Linked DNA regions of Homo sapiens: region 1 is linked to region 2. Evidence: promoter capture Hi-C in 16 types of primary human blood cells and fetal thymus (Javierre and others, 2016). All regions are on one chromosome and are shown on one strand. The core of a region is centred on a gene start or on the middle of the fragment in contact, and the rest is flanking DNA. Distances in the headings are between cores, read along the strand shown.

What was found. The method cuts DNA at HindIII sites, captures the fragments that hold promoters and counts their contacts. A CHiCAGO score of 5 or more calls a contact.
Region 1: a contact is called between a fragment that was not itself captured here and the fragment with the promoter of SLC25A5 in region 2, in 1 of 17 cell types (naive B cells). The highest score is 5.4, in naive B cells.

What each region holds. Positions count from the first base shown.
Region 1 is chrX:119,744,964-119,750,480 of GRCh38, forward strand. No RefSeq gene overlaps it. Among named protein-coding and RNA genes, the nearest start is that of SOWAHD, 11 kb to the right of the region's middle. The HindIII fragment of the contact is 5,147 bases long and covers 107-5,253 here.
Region 2 is chrX:119,464,195-119,469,693 of GRCh38, forward strand. SLC25A5 (solute carrier family 25 member 5) reads left to right here and starts at 4,250. Exons shown (of 4, transcript NM_001152.5): 1 at 4,250-4,432; 2 at 5,467-5,499. The coding sequence starts at 4,322. It overlaps SLC25A5-AS1 (SLC25A5 antisense RNA 1), which reads right to left and starts at 4,926. Exons shown (of 1, transcript NR_028443.1): 1 at 1,839-4,926. RefSeq lists silencers at 3,930-4,309, 4,800-5,039. The HindIII fragment of the contact is 10,795 bases long and covers 1-5,499 here.

The DNA of each region.
Region 1 (5,517 bases), core at 1,430-3,929, 280 kb after region 2:
AACATAAAGACACGTCTCTGCTATTTTTTCAGCAATGCCAAAAGTCATGTGATTTTCAAAACAGTACTTTATTAGATCTCACTGAACGGAAAGACACATGTTTAGAAGCTTCATTCGAAGTTTGTTACTTAATAACAAAAAACAAAAGTTCATAGATCCCCTTGAGGAAGCAGTTGTTTTTACTATCTTAGTAAACATGGTCAAAATAGTTCATTTGAAACAAAGTGGTAATAAACTCTAACACATTTATTTGTCAGTAAATACCATTGGAAGGCATCTAGCTAACATTGCCGAAGATTTGAACAAACTATGAGTAAATGATACAGTGTAGGAAGTTTTCTGTACAGTTGGACAAAACTTTTTCAGCATTTTCAGCTTTGTATTTGCTAGATACTGTTTCAATAATAAAATCCACAAAGAATTTATTTATTTATTTTGAGATAAGAGTCTCCCTCTGTCACCCAGGCTGGAGTATAGTGGCAGCATTGTAGCTCACTGCAGCCTTTAACTCCTGGGCTCAGGCGATCCTCCCACTTGAGCCTTCTGAGTAGCTGGGACCACAGGCGCATGCCACCACTCCAGGCTATTTTTATTTTTTAATTTTTTGTAGTGACAGGGTCTCGTTTTGTTGCCCAGGCTTATCTCAAACTCCTGGCCACAAGTGATACTCCCACCCCAGCCTCCCAGAGTGTTCGGATTACAGGTGTGAGTCACCATGCCCAGCCAAAAAACTACTTTTTTGTGTGTGGTCTACCAAAGGAGAAATGTAAAGGAGAAGATATATTATGAACACAAAGTGACTTGTTTACTTTTGTAACATCTTATAGGAAAACTGGAAATAAAGATTTTTACACTGATGAAGTGCTACTCTGACAGGAAACTTTCCAAAAGTGGGGGTGGATTTCAAGGTAACTTTACTGAGAAAGTTGGCGAGCTATCACAGCAAAGATATTGAAGCCTGAAATGTACAAAGTGCTATAGGATTCATTAATCTGGTTAACGGTATAAAAATAAGACTTTTTTTTTTTTGGAAACAGGGTCTCACTCTGTTGCCAAGGCTGGAGTACAGTAGCACAATGTCGGGTCACTGCAACCTCTGCCTCTGGGTTCAAGTGATTCTCCTGCCTCAGCCTACCAAATAGCTGAAATTACAGGCACGTGCCACCAAGCCCAGCTAATTTTTGTATTTTTAGTTGAGACAGGGTTACTCCTTGTTGGCCAGGCTGGTCTCAAACTCCCGACCTCAAATGATCTACCCTCATCGGCCTCCCAAAGTGCTGCGGTTACAGGCATGAGCCACCGTGCCTGGCAAAATAAGACTTGATATACAGTAATTTTTTTTTTTTTTTAGACAGTCTCACTCTTTCGCCCAGGCTAGAGTTCAGTGGTGTGATCTCAGCTCACTGCAACCTCCACCTCCCAGGCTCATGCAATTCTCCTGCCTCAGTCTCCCAAGTAGCTGGGACCACAGGTGCGTGTCACCAGGCCCGGCTTTTTTTTTTTTTTTTTTTTTGTATTTTTAGTAGAGATGGGGGTTTCACCATGTTGGCCAGGCTGGTCTCAAACTCCTGACCTCAGGTGATCCTCCCTCCTTGGCCTCCCAAAGTGCTGGGATTACAGGTGTGAGCCACCGTGCCCAGCCAATATACCAGTAAAATCTTTAAAGAATTCTATTATGTAAGTCCTTAAAAGAGTTTTCAAACTAAAAGATGCACTTTTTTTTCCACATAAAGATACGCATTTCAAATTTACTGACATTTTCAGGGGTGTCTTAGAGTAGTCAGAAGACTTTTTTTTTTTTTTTTTGCCGTGAGGTTTTGCTCTTGTTGTCCAGGCTGGAGTGCAATGGTGCAATCTCGGCTCATTGAAACTTCCGCCTCCCAGGTTCAAGCGATTCTCCTGCCTCAGCCTCCTGAGTAGCTGGGATTACAGGCACCTGCCACCATGCCCAGCTAATTTTTTTGTATTTTTAGTAGAGACAGAGTTTTGCCATGTTGGCCAGCCTAGTCTCAAACTCCTGGTCTCAGGTGATCCGCCAGTCTCGGCATCCCAAAGTGCTGGGATTACAGGTGTGAGCCACCGCGCCCAGCCAGGAGACTTTTAAAAAAAAATCATAATAAACACAGCCCATCCAGTTCTTCAAGATAAAGTTGATATTTTAACAATGAGTGAGAAAGTAACTGCTTTGGAAGGAAATGCAGAACAGGCAGAGAACATTTGGAAAATGGATGTTTGTGTTTTCATTGTTATGTAATTTTGTGGCCAAAAATGATGTAAGTAGCATACCTAGAAAACCTATCATATCTGCACATTTTAAAACTTCAGAATAAAAATTCCTAACCTGCTTTTTAAACATATTTCAAATGTAGAGTTTTTTGTGGGTTTTCGGCACATTTGTTAAAAACACAAAGGTGCAACAAGTACTTACCGTTTTGCAAGAACAAATGATTGCCATCAGCAAAAATGACCGTTTACCAACTGAATTTCATCAGAAACCTTTGCATAATTGGTGGGTGGAATTGAAAAACAAGAATTATGATGTACTAAGCCCAGCCAATTAAATTTTTCTTCCATTTGGAGCTGTGTATCTTTGTGAGACATCTTGCTTATGTGTGACATCCACTAAAACTGAGTGCTGCAATAAAGTAAGATCCGCACCTTCAAAGAGCTGCATTATAGTGTTAACCTAAGAACGGTCATAGTAGCCTAGCACTTTTTTTTTTTTTTTTTTGAGACGGAGTCTTGCTCTGGTGCCCAGGCTAGAGTGCAGTGGCGAGGTCTCGGCTCACTACACCTCCACCTCCTGAGTTCAAGTGATTCTCCTGCCTCAGCCTCCCGAGTAGCTGGGACAACAAGCGTGTGCCACCACACCCAGCTAATTTTTTATTTTTAGTAGAGACGGTTTTTCAACATGTTGGCCAGGCTGGTCTCGAACTTCTGACATCAGGTGATTCACCTGCCTTGGCCTCCCAAAGTGCTGGGATTACAGGTGTGAGCCACCGCACCCAGCCAGCACTTTCTAATAACAATGATGTTAGATTTTTAAAAAATGGCTAAGTAAAGTGGCTCACCCCTGTAATTCCAGTACTTTGGGAGGCCAAGGTGAGTAGATTGCTTGAGCCCAGGCGTTCGAGACCAGCCTGGGCAACATGGTGAAACTCATCTCTACAAAAAATACAAAAATTAGCCTGGCATGGTGACACACGCCTGTAGTCCCAGATACTTGGGGGCCTGGGGGTGAGGATCACTTGAGCCCAGGAGGTTGAGGTTGCAGTGAGCTGTATTCTTAACACTGCACTCCAGCCTGGGGAACAGAGTGAGACCCTGTCTCAAAAAAAGAAAAAAAAAAAGATGTTTTAAAAACGAAGCATATGCAATCACATTCTCTTGTGAAAAAATTAATAATAAAATTTTAATGAATATCCAAATAGTTTTGTACTACAAGCATTATAAAACTGTAAATTATTTTAAACTATATTTTATCTTTGTCTCATCCTTTTAAAATTTCCTTTTTGTGTATGCTTTATAATATACATATTTCATAGAGTAATACACACACATCATTTTGAAATTGCAAAATATTCACGAATGTTGAGAATATCTGCTCAAAATATTTTTATTATAGGGGCATGCAATTTAAAACGTTGGGACACCAGCCTTGGCAATATGGTGAGATCCCATCTCTAAAACAATTTTTAAAAAATTAGCTGGGACTGGGTGCAGTGGCTCACGCCTGTAATCCCAGCACTTTGGGAGGCCAAGGCAGGCGAATCTCCTGAGGTCAGGAGTTTGAGACAACATGGCGAAACCCTGCCTCTACTAAAAATCAAAAAAATTAGCTGGGCGTGGTGGTGGGCACCTGTAATCCCAGCTACTCGGGAGGCTGAGGCAGGAGAATCGCTTGAACCCGGAAGGTGGAGGTTGCAGTGAGCCAAGATGGCATCATGGCACTCCAGCCTGGGCAACAAGAGCGAAATTCTGTCTCAAAAAACAAACAATTAGCTGGGCATGGTGGCACATGCCTGTACTCCCAGCTACTCAGGAGGCTGAGGTGGGAGGATGGTTTGAGCCCAGGAGTTAGAAGCTGCAGTGAGCTATGATGGTGCCACTGCACTCCAGCCTGGGTGACACAGCCAGATTCCCATCTCAAAAAAAAAAAAATTGGAGATTATTGCTTTAATATCTACCATAATGTTAAGCATCATGAATGTGATGTGATTAGCATAGTGTTTGGCACATATTAAGGCCTCAATGAGTGTTGGCTTTTACAACATCCTCTATGTAAATGAGGGATGCATTAGACCCAGTGTAACATGATGGTTAAAAGTATGAGCCTTGGAATCAGTTGAAGCTGGATGGGTTTCCTGCCAATTACTAGCTGTGTGAACGTGGTCAATTAACTTCATTGGGCCTCAGATTCTCATTAGTCTCTTAGAGTTGTTGTAAAGATTAAGGGACATAATGCACTTTATGGCAACAGCTTTACTGAGCTATAATTCACATACCATACAATTCACTTTTTTTTTTAAACGAAGTTTAGCTTTCGTTGGGCAGGCTGGGGTGTAATGGTGTGATCTCGGCTCACTGCAACTTCCACTTCCCAGGTTCAAGCGATTTTCCTGCCTCAGCCTCCTGCGCAGCTGGGATTACAGGCATGCACCACCAAGCCCGGCTAATTTTGTATTTTTAGTAGAGATGGGGTTTCATCAAGTTGGCCAGGCTGGTCTTGAACTCCTGAGCTCAGGTGATCTGCCCACCTCGGCCTCCCACCGTGCTTGGATTACAGCCATGAGCCACTGCGCCCAGCAACTCACCACTTTAAAGTGTATATTTCAGTGCTTTTTAGTATATTCACAAGGCTGTGCAACCATCACCGTGTCTGGAATTGGTGGGTTTTTGGTCTCACTGACTTCAAGAAGGAAGCCGCGGACCCTCGCGGTGAGTGTTACAGCTCTTAAGGTGGCGCGTCTGGAGTCTGTCCCTTCTGATGTTCAGATGTGTTTGGAGTTTTTTTCTTCTGGTGGGTTCGTGGTCTCACTTGCTCAAGAGTGAAGCTGCAGACCTTCCCGGTGAGTGTTACAGCTCTTACGGCAGCGCGTGGGGAGTTGTTCATTCCTCCCAGTGGGCTCGTAGTCTCACTGGGCTCAGGCGTGAAGCTGCAGATTTTGGCGGTTAAGTGTTACAGCTCATAAAAGCAGCGTGGACCTAAAGAGTAAGCATTAGCAAGATTTATTGCAAAGAGTGAAAGAACAAAGCTTCCACAGTGTGGTAAGGGACGGGAGCGGGTTGTCAATGCTGCTTCGGGCAGCCTGCTTTTATTCTCTTATCTGGCCCCACCCACATCCTGCTGATTGGTAGAGCCCAGTGGCCTGTTTGGTCAGGGCGCTGATTGGTGCGTTTACAATCCCTGAGCTAGATACAAAGGTTCTCCACGTCCCCATCAGATTAGTTAGATACAGAGTTTTGACACACAGGTTCTCCAAGGCCCCACCAGAGCAGCTAGATACAGAGTGTCGA
Region 2 (5,499 bases), core at 3,000-5,499:
CACACACACACACGTTAATTAACCTATGTGACCATGCCCAGCAATTTTTTTTTTTTTTTTTTAGTTTTTTTGCTTAACAGATATCCAGATGACAGGATCACTTTCCCCAAGATTCTTGTCACTTTCACTTTGCTAACCAAATCTTCCTTATTTATTATCAGGATTAAGCCCAGCTTAGCAATTTACCTCATTGCTTCTTTATTCTTTTGAGAACTGTAATTACACTGTATCAGCAAGAGAGCCAAGAATCTATCAGATGTTTTCTTAAATTTAAGATGGTCTTAAAAATAAGAAAAAAGAATGTATCAGATATGTTGCTATCAGAATAACTTCCAGCAGATATTCAGATGTTCTATGTCTCTGATCACCCTTTCCTGTTCGTCTATGTGACAGTTTTATGAAATGCCATTCATACTTTTATTTATTTTATTTATTTTTTATTTTTATTTTTATTTTGAGATGGAGTCTCGCTCTGTCACCCAGGCTGGAGTGCAGCGGCACGATGTGGGTTCACTGCAACCTCTGCCTCCCGGGTTCAAGCGATTCTCCTGCCTCAGCCTCCTGAGTAGCTAGGATTACAGGCCTGAGTCACCGCACCTGGCTGATTTTTGTATTTTTAGTAGAGACGGGGTTTTACCATGTTGGCCAGGCTGATCTCAAACTCCTGACCGCAGGTGATCCACCTGCCTCGGCCTCCCAAAGTGCTGGGATTATAGGCGTGAGCCACCGCGCCCGGCCCCATTCATACTTTTAATCTGAGAAGTCTCTTGTATACTTCTACAACTATAATCACTTTCATTTCTCCGTTTCATTCTCACTGAATGCTTTTCACCCTCCAGCCAATGAATTACTAGTTATACCTTCTTGACATATTACTGCTCTCTTCTTCTGTATGGTATCTCTGAATCAAGTTTTCCAGATGCCAGCCAGAAGTTCCACCCTCCCAAGTCTAAACAATACCTATAAAATTGCATTTTCCTGAGTGTATTAAAATTTTACATTCCCGGCCAGTCGCTGCGGCTCATGCCTGTAATCCCAGCACTTTGGGAGGCCAAAGCAGGCAGATCACCTGAGGTCAGGAGTTTGAGAGCAGCCTGGCCAACATGGTAATAACCTGTCTCTACTAAAAATACAAAAATTAGCCAGGCGTGGTGGTGGCGTGCCTGTAATCCCAGCTACTCAGGAGGCTGAGGCTGAAGAACCGCTTGAACCTAGGAGGTGGAGGTTGCAGTGAGCGGAGATCGCGCCATTGCACTCCAGCCTGGGCGACAAGAGCAAAACTCTGTCTCAAAAAAAAAAAAATTACATTCCCTTTATTACCCATATTCTGGGTGTTGGTACATAGATATCTGAGGCCTTAAAAGTGTCATTTCTGACTCTCTTCCTTGTTTTTCCTTGAGAATTACTAGGCATTGCCTTAGCTTTAGTTCCTCTTAATTAGACTTATATTTTACATAGCTTCCAGAAACACAATAATTACTAACACAGCACTATGTCTCAATGGAGGAATTAGTTTTGATTAACTGACCAGCCATATATCATTATCAACATCATCATCATCATCATCATCATCATCATTAATATTCTTCTCGGCTGGGTGCAGTGGCTCATACCTGTAATCCCAGCAATTTGGAAGGCTAAGGTGGGAGGATCACTTGAGCCTAGGAGTTTGAGGCTGCAGTGAGCTATGATCGTGCCGCTGCACTCCAGCCTGGGTGACAGAATGAGACTCTATTTTCTATTTTCCTGGATGCTTGCTCCTTGTTTCTTTTTCCTTCTTTTTTAAAAAGTTTTTAAACTTTCAGACTTTTTTAAATGTTGCAAAAATAGTACAAAAATGTCCTTATATCCTTTATTCAACTTCTCTAAATCTTACATAACCACCATAACCAAGAATAGTATTGGTAATCTACAGATATTCAAACCTCACCAATATAACCAATGTCCTTTTTCTGGTACAGGAGCCGGTTGAGTGTCATATATTACATTCAGTTGTCAAGTATCTTTAGTCTCCTTTAATCTGTGACAGTTCCTTAGTCTCTTTGTCTTTCATGATCTTAACAGTTTCGAGAATATCTGACTCCTTAAAATACACGCGGTGATAGGTGACTACGGGAGCTCCAGCTCACCGTGGATTTAGCAAAATACCAAGTGATGACAAGAAGTTGCTTTTAAATGACCCATCTTGTATTTCATCGTCAATAAAACCACACTTAGTTACCCAAAGACTGAGAAGGGAAAAATTCTATGTAATTATTTGATCATCTTTTTTTGTGGAGAGAAAAAAAACTGACAAAACAATGAGCTCTGGAATAGAATACAGTAGAGGCATCATGCTCAAAGAGAGTAGCAGATGTGGCCAGGGAAAGGTCACATGTAGAAAAGGGATACACAAGTGATGGCGAGGTGTATCGAGGAATAATTAACAGTTGAATAAAAATGCATTAATCAGAATGTCAAGAGTTCAAACTAGAAAGATTTTGAATTTTAAATGCATTATAAATAAAATCCACCTCTCTCCAAATAAAGCCCTCTGTAGAATTTTGCTTTAGCTCTTGTTTCTCTCACCAGAATAGAGAAGCGAGTATCACCTTTGGAGGATATACTCTACCATTCTCTGAAACTGTTTTTTTGCATTCAGCTACCTCGCTATTATAATCAGCTGAGAAACACCATAGCCTTTCACTAACACAGGTCAAAGATTTCTCCCAGGATCAACAAAGCTAGATTCAAAATTGCTCCTTTGAACACATGCAATTTGTGTGCATCAGTTTCGATCGCTGGGGTTCTTGAGGAGACTAACAAATTGCAAAGTGTACTTTCAGAGGAAGGGCCTAACCATCCTGGGGGGTCCTAGAATTGGGTCCTTTCACAGGCAGATCTGGAGAAGATAGGAGAGGGCAGGAAAGGAAAGTGAAGGATATGAACACTATGTGTTCAGTGTGCAAAGGCCTGCTGGCATTTTGCCTATGGGAATTCTGAAGTCTGGGCACATAAGGTTCAGCTGCAGTTGCAGTTTTCAACAGTCGTCCTTATTTTTATAAACATTGTTATGATTATTCAGACACGGAACTTGTGATTACACTATTTGCTCCTGTTCTGAACTTGAGGGAGTCCACTTAAGCTAACAAGTAGGTTTTTGAGGACATGTGTGGCAAATGCTTACCCAGTGAAGGGATTAAGGGGCTCAGTAAGCACTTGTCCATTGGCACAATGGCTGCCAATCTAATTCTATTGATTCCTCTAAATGTTTCTGGAGTTCAGAAATCTATTCAATCCAAGGGCACTTTACCTGGGGTCCTGGGAGCCAAATGTTAACGTAGTTCTTAACCTTCCTAAGCCTCTTAACCTTCTGGGTACAACCTCTATATTTGTCTTCTGGCTAAAATCATTTCCCCACCCCCAGCCCAGTCCTTTGGACTCTCCCAGGCCAATTCCTGGCAAGATCTTTGTCGAACTGTATTTGCAAACCAGGGTCTGGGGCACGGTGGCAGTTCCTTCGTCTGCTGTTCCCTTAATTTCGTCTGGTTTCACTGGCTCCAGGACAGCACACGGTCTAGAGTGGGAAGAGTGAGGCATTCACCTTGGTGAAAAACAACTCAGTAATTAAGACAAATGATTTTTCATGTACTATTTTAAAAAAATCAGAAGCAATGCAAAAATCCATGATGAACAAATGATCAACATTTGAAATACAGACAGGATCCCAACCTGCACTTGCATGACCTTGTCTCGCTTGCCTCACCCTAAACCCAGCCTTGACACTCCAATTAAACTTTATTTACAAAACAAGGGGGCCGGCCAGTAGGATGTAGTTTGCCCATACGACTTTTTTAAAGTATCGCATTGACTACTGTTTATCTCGATGACTGAAGGGTTCTTTTGGCATCCCTGTAGCAAATGCGTCTCACCCTAGTCCTGGTCCTGCTCCAAGGGTTTTTGTCCAGGCACATCGTGACCTCACCCTTCCTCCCCTCTCCGAGGCCTCTCTCAGGGTCCAGCGTTCAAGTCCCGGGTGTTCTCTGGACCCGCCCCTTCCTCTCGCCGGGTCAGGTGCCGAGGGCGAGCACGGGCGGCGCGGAGAGCAGTCCCGGCCCGCCCTCCACGACTCCTCCTCCTGCGAGCTGGGCCACTCAGCGGCTCTGCCGCCCAGCGCGCCGGGGCCCAGACCCCGCCCCGGCCCCGCCTCCGACGCCTGCCGCTCCAGCTCCGGCTCCCCCTATATAAATCGGCCATTTGCTTCGCTCCGCCCCGCAGCGCCGGAGTCAAAGCCGGTTCCCGGCCCAGTCCCGTCCTGCAGCAGTCTGCCTCCTCTTTCAACATGACAGATGCCGCTGTGTCCTTCGCCAAGGACTTCCTGGCAGGTGGAGTGGCCGCAGCCATCTCCAAGACGGCGGTAGCGCCCATCGAGCGGGTCAAGCTGCTGCTGCAGGTACGTCCTGGGATCCAGGAGCCCAACCAGGAAGTGGGGGGAAGGGTCGCACAGAAGGCGGGCGCCCGAGGGGTGGCGGGGAGCGAACTCTAAAGACATGGCCAGGGAAGCGGCTTAGGAGAGGCCAGAGCGGGGCGCAGAGGCAGAACAGAAGTCAAACTGGTGGGAGGCGCCTTTAGTGACCTGAAGTAGTGAGTCTAGGAAGGGGCCGGGGGCAGAGGGCAGGACCAGGCTCTCGGCATCTCCGAGGCGGCGGACTCGGATGGAGCAGTTTCTGAGTGACGGCCTCCCCGGGCCTGGGCGTCAAGGGCGAAGGCCGAAAGCCGGCGTTAGAAAGAGGAACGCCAGTTCTTACCGAAGACCTCAAGGTCGCGGCAAGGAGATAACTGCCCGGGGGAGGCCATGCGCCCGGGTCCAGCGGCCTCCCAGCCCGCGGACGCGCTCAAACCTCGCCGGGCCGGAAGCCGGCGCCGGGAAGCGCGTGTGCCTTTTACGTCCGCCCCCGCGCAGCCGCGGCCGCTGCCGCCGCGTCTCCGCCTGCCTCCCTGCGCCGCGCGCTCTCCAGTGCCGGCTCTAGAGGGCGCTCCTGGGCTAGCGTGTAGGGCTGGCGGCGGCGGCGCTCGGGTCACCTCTGGGAGCGGAGTGGGGGCGGAGCGAGACGGAAGCAGCTCAGGAGACTTGAGGCGTAGGCTGCGGTCCCCAAGGTGACCGCGCCCTATGTGGGACTCGCCCTAATGCCTCTGAACCTGGGTTTGAGGTAATGACCTTTCTCCTAGGTCTGAAGGTCACGGGTCCGCTGGAGGATGCCCCCTCTCCACTCAGAGGGGTGGAGGCTTAATGCTACTGGTGCAGATCACCTCTTCCCCTGTGACAGCCTCAGAGGGTTGGGAGGGTCCAGCCAGTATGATATACGAAGACTAGATTTGAGAGAGGGGAGCCTACCTTAAAGGGCATTGATCGAGATGGCATAAGCTCTTCTCTTTCCCTTCCCCATGGTTATAACTGTCCCTGTTGGCTTCCTTCCTGTCTGTTAGGTGCAGCATGCCAGCAAGCAGATCACTGCAGAT